Regions from separate parts of the Homo sapiens genome. Here region 1 is linked to region 2. The links are contacts of gene promoters, found by promoter capture Hi-C in human tissues and cell types (Jung and others, 2019). All regions are on one chromosome and are shown on one strand. Each heading gives the region's core, a stretch centred on a gene start or on the middle of the fragment in contact. The rest is flanking DNA. Distances are from core to core; before and after follow the strand shown.

Evidence for each region. The method cuts DNA at HindIII sites, captures the fragments that hold promoters and counts their contacts. A contact is called where the count stands out against the background at its distance.
Region 1: the fragment with the promoter of PNPLA7 here is called in contact with a fragment that was not itself captured in region 2 in 1 of the 25 tissues and cell types used here (spleen).

The regions. Positions count from the first base shown.
Region 1 is chr9:137,549,152-137,551,651 of GRCh38, reverse strand. It overlaps PNPLA7 (patatin like domain 7, lysophospholipase), which reads left to right and starts at 1,250. Exons shown (of 35, transcript NM_001098537.3): 1 at 1,250-1,484. The coding sequence starts at 1,455. RefSeq lists a silencer at 1-451 and an enhancer at 1,640-2,141. The HindIII fragment of the contact is 18,703 bases long and covers 1-2,500 here.
Region 2 is chr9:136,801,503-136,805,117 of GRCh38, reverse strand. It overlaps CCDC183 (coiled-coil domain containing 183), which reads right to left. Exons shown (of 14, transcript NM_001039374.5): 6 at 2,332-2,454; 7 at 491-616; 8 at 302-356. CCDC183-AS1 (CCDC183 antisense RNA 1) reads left to right here. Exons shown (of 5, transcript NR_024580.1): 5 at 1-1,191. Among named protein-coding and RNA genes, the nearest start is that of RABL6, 4.6 kb to the left of the region's middle. The HindIII fragment of the contact is 7,702 bases long and covers 1-3,615 here.

The DNA of each region.
Region 1 (2,500 bases), core at 1-2,500, 750 kb before region 2:
CTGGCGGATGAGTGATCGCTCTCAGCGCGGTGGTCCCTGGCGTCTCCACTGCCCGCCACTGCCTGTGTTCGTCCGCCAGGTGGCCGGCGGTTTCCCGGGAGCCCAGTCCCCCTGAGGCCGTGAGGTGGCGTCGGGAGGTCGGGGAGGACGCGGGCCCTGGACTCGAGACGGCCGCCGCGTTGACGCCGCGACCCTGCCTTTCTTACCCCTCCGCCGGGCGCGGCTCCTCTGGGCGGAGCCGGCAACCGCGCGGGGAAAGCCCGGGACCTGCAGCCGGGAGGGCCCGGGCTGTCTGTGCTCCCCCGCAGGCCGGGCAGTGGTGTGGGGGGACTCGAGCCCTCGCGGTGCCCAAATTAATCAATAATCTTGGACCCAGCACGTCCGGCTTGCGCACTGAGCCCTCCTGCCCGGTCACCCTCGCAGGCGACCTCTCACCCCACGCGGAAGTCGCCCCCCAGCCGCACCCTCACAATCCGGATCCACCCCCTCCCCAGCTGCACCCCGTCCCCAGCGGCACCCCCACAGCCCAGATCCATCCCCTCTCCAGCTGCACGCCCTTCCCCAGCGGTACCCCCACACCCCAGATCCATCCCCTCCCCAGCTGCACCCCCTCCCCAGCGGCACCCCCACGCCCCAGATCCACCCCCTCCCCAGCTGCACCCCCTCCCCAGCGGCACCCCCACGCCCCAGATCCACCCCCTCCCCAGCTGCACCCCCTCCCCAGCGGCACCCCCACACCCCAGATCCACCCCCTCCCCAGCTGCACCCCCTCCCTAGCGGTACCCCCACTCGCCGGATCCACGCGCTCCCCAGCTGCACCCTCTCCCCAGCAGTACCCCCACACCCCAGATCCACCCCCTCCCCAGCTGCACCCACTCCCCAGCGGTACCCCTACACGCCGGATCCACCCCCTCCCCAGCTGCACCCACTCCCCAGCGGCACCCCCACACCCCAGATCCACCCCCTCCCCAGCTGCACCCACTCCCCAGCGGTACCCCTACACGCCGGATCCACCCCCTCCCCAGCTGCACCCTCCTCCCCAGCTGCATCCCCACACCCCGGATCCACGCCCCGCCAGCGTCACCTCCCCTCCAGCCGTGCTTCTCCAGAAGGCAGCGCTGCCCCCATCCCCGCCGCGCTGGGCCTGGCTCCTCTTGACCTGCTTGGATACGCCCCATCTGGCTGCTGTTCTGGGTTCCGGGACAGCCACGTGAGGGCTGTTTACAGAGGGAAGGAGGTGGCTCCTAGCAGATGACAGACACTTCTCAAAAGACAGCTTTTCTTCCTGGAGAACAGACTTTTTCAGCAGGATTTTCCTTTCAGTGAAACATAATTTGACTTGAAAGGAACCCAGGGAAAAGTGTCCAGGTGTGAGCATGAGCGGGTAGAGGTGTGCCCTTGTTTGCTTCAGGCTGTCTGCTTTTCGCCCCTGACTGTTTTTTCTGTTTCTGGCCATGGAGGAAGAGAAAGATGACAGCCCACAGGTATGTAACTCGGGGGACCAGATGCCTGGATTTCCCAGTTGGGGGGCATTTCTGGACCCAGAGAAGGGTCCTCTTGGCGTCTGCTCTGCCGCGCTCTTTGGCCCCGTGGCTTCTTGGCGCCTGAGGACTGTGGGAGTGGTGGATCTGGCCCCTCTCTGCTGCCTGTCACAGCTGCCAGCACTTGTTAGACGCGCCTGTCACAGCAGACAGCCAGTGGTGGCCCATGGGCATTGTTCACAGCGAGGGCAGCCAGCGGTGGCCCATGGGCATTGCCTGAGGCCTTGTCTTTTCTTCCCCTAAGGTCACAGTTGCTACTTCCAGTTCCTTTAGGACTTTGCCTGATGGTTTTGCTTAGAACCTTTTTCTGTGTTTTTTTTTTTCCCAAGACGGAGTCTCGCTCTGTCGCCCAGGCTGGTGTGCAATGGTGTGATCTTGGCTCACAGCAACCTCCGCCTCCTGGGTTCAGGCAATTCTGCCTCAGCCTCCCGGGTAGCTGGGACTACAGGCACCACGCCCGGCTAATTTTTGTATTCTTAGTAGAAACGGGGTTTCGCCATGTTGGCCAGGCTGGTCTTGAACTTTTTTTTTTTTTTTTTTTGAGACGGAGTCTTGCTCTGTCGCCCAAGCTGGATTGCAGTGGCACGATCTCAACTCACTGCAAGCTCTGCCTCCCAGGTTCACGCCATTCTCCTGCCTCGGCCTCCCAAGTAGCTGGGACTACAGGCGCCCACCACCACGCCCGGCTAATATTTTTTTGTATTTTCAGTAGAGACGGTGTTTCACTGTGTTAGCCAGGATGGTCTCGATTTCCTGACCTCGTGATCCGCCCGCCTTGGCCTCCCAAAGTGCAGGGATTACAGGCATGAGCCACCGTGCCCGGCCTAGTCTTGAACTCTTGACCTCATGATCTGCCCGCCTCGGCCTCCCAAAGTGCTGGGATTACAGGCGTGAGACACTGTGCCCAGCCCTAGAATCTTTTTCTTAGTCAAACATCTGTAGCCACATGGCAAAGGCCT
Region 2 (3,615 bases), core at 331-2,830:
ACTGTGGGCCCGGTGGTGCTTCTCAGAGGCAGCTTAGGGGTCAGGATGCTCATCCTCTGCAGAGTCACTGGGGACTGGGCCCTTGGTGCAGGGCCCTTGGGTGCTGGGGCCAGCATCTCTGAGGCCACATTTGGCTACAGGCTCTCAGCCTCTGGAGGGAGAGGCAGGGACCTGTCCTTCCCTTCACCCTGGCGACCACATGTCACACCTGGCCTCAGGGTGACTTGATCCGTTGGCCTGAATCAGTGCCAGCCTCTCCTTGGGACCCTGGCTGGGGGCAGGTGGGGAGCTGAGCGCTTACATTTCAGGGTCTCCGTGCTCATCAGGTTCGAGGGGAAGTCCAAGTCCATCTGGCCCTGATGGGAGGTGGGGGCGGGGAAGGGATGAGACATCCTTGGCAGGGAGTGGGCCCTGAGTGGTGGCCCTGAGCCTGTGTCCACCCAGCTGTCATGGGGATGGGCAGCCAGCCAGGCCCTGGCCTGGGGCTTACCCGGCGGTACTTCTCGCTGGTCTCCTTCGTGTGGATCTTGTCGATCAGCTTCTTCTGCTGGTTGAGCCGGTTCTCCCTTGCCCGGCGCTCCTCGATGAAGGACGCCTCCCTTTGCCTCATGTTCCTCTGGGGACATGCGGGTGGGCACAGGGTTGGGGAGCTGTCTCAACAAGGCCCCTAATGGCAGTAAAGCCAGCGGGCGGTTGGCCATGCTCACCTTACTAGACTTTGGAACTGCATCCCCGGCCAATGGCCACACCCTTTTCCTAAACCACTTGTGCCCGTGGCCCCTCAGCTCACGGCCCTCCTTGCCCATGCCTCAGAGCATGTGCCAGCCCAGACGCTCTGCTGCCCTCCAGCCGCTGGCCCCCAGCTGCCTCCTGGCCAGGTCCACCTAGAACTCACGGAAGTGCATTCAGCCTGCCTGAAGACAGATTCATCCTCTTCCCCAAAACCTGGCCTCTTCCAGCGTGCCCTTGGGCAGCTAAAACCGTCATCTGCTAACCCCTGCTCACGCACCCCAGACACTGCTCTCACCCTCGCCACTCTCGTTGCCAGCGCTTAGTGGGGTTGCCTCTTGAGGAGTTCTCAGCTCCGTTGCTCCTGGCCACCCCTTCTCCACCCCGGGTATACCCAGGTGATCAGCGCTTCTGCCCTGGCACCTTCCAGTCCCTGCAGCCTGAGTACACCCTTTCTGAAGCACAGACCTGGTCACATCTTTCCTCCACCTCCTCCCAGGGCTCCAGGTCAGTCCTTGGGCCCCCAGCCCAGCCGCCTCCGTGGACTCCTGGGGCCTGTGCCTCTGCAGCCTCCACTGCCCTGGCCACACGCTGCTCCATGTATCACACCCCTCCCAGCCCAGGGCCTTTTCCCAAGTTGTACCTCCTCCTCCCTAGCCCTGGCCACACCTGACCTTTGCGGGTTCAATCCCTCAGCCCAGCTCAAGCACTGTCTTCCTGGAAAGCCATCTGCCACCCCACCTGTCTCTGCTGAGCTGGCTCAGGGGCTGTGTGGCATTTCTTCATGGACTACTGGATGAGTGCCACCCACTTCAGGAGGACAGGGTCTGCCTGTCCCGGTCCCTGCTGTATCCCCAGAGCCTTGCAGGGACCTTGGCACAGACTGGGTGAATAGGTGACCCCCGCCCTGGCCCGGCCAGTTCTCTCCCTCTCCTCTACTTCATGGCTCCTGTGCTGGATGGGACCTGCTCTGTCCAGTGGGTGAGCAGAGCAGGCTGGCCGGGCTGGCCACTGGATCCTTCTGGGGATTGTAGGCAGTGTGGGCATGGGGGTCTCCTGAGAGACCCTGGCCAGAAGACACAAGAGAGCCCGCCCTGGGGGGCCCCAGCCCTGGGCCCTGAGCTCACCTTGACCCCATCCGAAGATCCAAGAGGGCTGGCCCTGGGGGGCCCCCAGCCCTGGGCCCTGAGCTCACCTTGACCCCATCCGAAGATCCAAGAGGGCTGGCCCTGGGGGGCCCCAGCCCTGGGCCCTGAGCTCACCTTGACCCCATCCGAAGATCCAAGAGGGCTGGCCCTGGGGGGCCCCCGGCCCTGGGCCCTGAGCTCACCTTGACCCCATCCGAAGATCCAAGAGGGCTGGCCCTGGGGGGCCCCCAGCCCTGGGCCCTGAGCTCACCTTGACCCCATCCGAAGATCCAAGAGGGCTGGCCCTGGGGGGCCCCCGGCCCTGGGCCCTGAGCTCACCTTGACCCCATCCGAAGATCCAAGAGGGCTGGCCCTGGGGGGCCCCCAGCCCTGGGCCCTGAGCTCACCTTGACCCCATCCGAAGATCCAAGAGGGCTGGCCCTGGGGGGCCCCCAGCCCTGGGCCCTGAGCTCACCTTGACCTCATCCGTGATCATCATGGCATCTTGGGACATGATCTTCATATCCGACAGCTCTGAGCAGTAGTTGACCACGAGGTTCTGCAGCTTGTCCAGCTCAATGGGGTATCCTGCCAGCACCTGTGTTGAATGGGGTTCTCTTGTGGCCCCTACAGAGTGGGCTGCAGTTGCCCCGAGCTTTTATCCCCCGACTAAGAGCCCTGAGAACAGTGATAGGTTCTCCTCTGTGGCCCCAGCCACCTCCCCCACTCCCCGCTGGGCACAACGGTGATGAAAGGTGTTTCACAGGGAGTGGACAGTGCTGGCCTGGTGGACTCTTTCACCACCTAGGGTCCAACAACCCAGAGAGACTGAGAGAGTTTGTGATGAAATGCTCTGCAGAAAAGGCTGACTGAAACCCGGGGAGGTTTGGGGACAGTTCTGCTTTGAAGTGAAACAGAGGGGCTCAAGACATGGGCTTGGGGTCAGAGAGTCAGGATTCAAGGCCAAGGCAGCTTCTGACCAGCTAGTTTAGCTGTGTGACATTGGGAAAGTTACTTAATCTCTCTGTGTCCCCATTTGTAAGATGATGGCTCGTTCAGAAGGTTGCCATCAGGATGAATTGAGTGTAAAAGGAATTATTTAGCCCAGAACCAGGTACATACGTGCTCAGGATAGCTTTGCTATAGTGGTTTGTTTTTTGTAACTACAAGTATAGGCCAGGTGCGGTGGCTCACGCCTGTAATCCCAACACTGGGAGGCCGGAGGCAGGCAGATCATGAGGTCAGGAGTTAGAGACCAGCCTGGCCAACATAGTGAAACCCTGTCTCTACTAAAAATACAAAAAAAATCAGCCGGGCGTGGTAGTGGGCGCCTGTAATTCTAGCTATTCGGGAGGCTGAGGCAGGAGAATCGCTTGAACCCGGGAGGCGGAGGTTGCAGTGAGCCGAGATCTCACCACTGCACACCAGCTGGGGCAACAGTGTGAAACTCCATCTCAAAAAACAAAACAAACAAAAACAAAACTAGAAGTGTAGAATCTTCATTTTTAAAAATATGGATGACTATGGGAATTATTGCTTGTTTTTTCCTTTGTTCTGAGACTGAATCTCACTCTATCACCCAGGCTGGAGTGCGATGGTACGATCTCGGCTTGCAGCAACCTCTGCCTTCTGGGTTCAGGTGATTCTCGTGCCTCAGCCTCCCGAGTAGCTGGGATTACAGGCATGCACCACCATGCCAGGCTACTTTTTGTATTTTTAGTAGAGATGAAGTTTCACCATGTTGGCCAGGCTGGTCTAG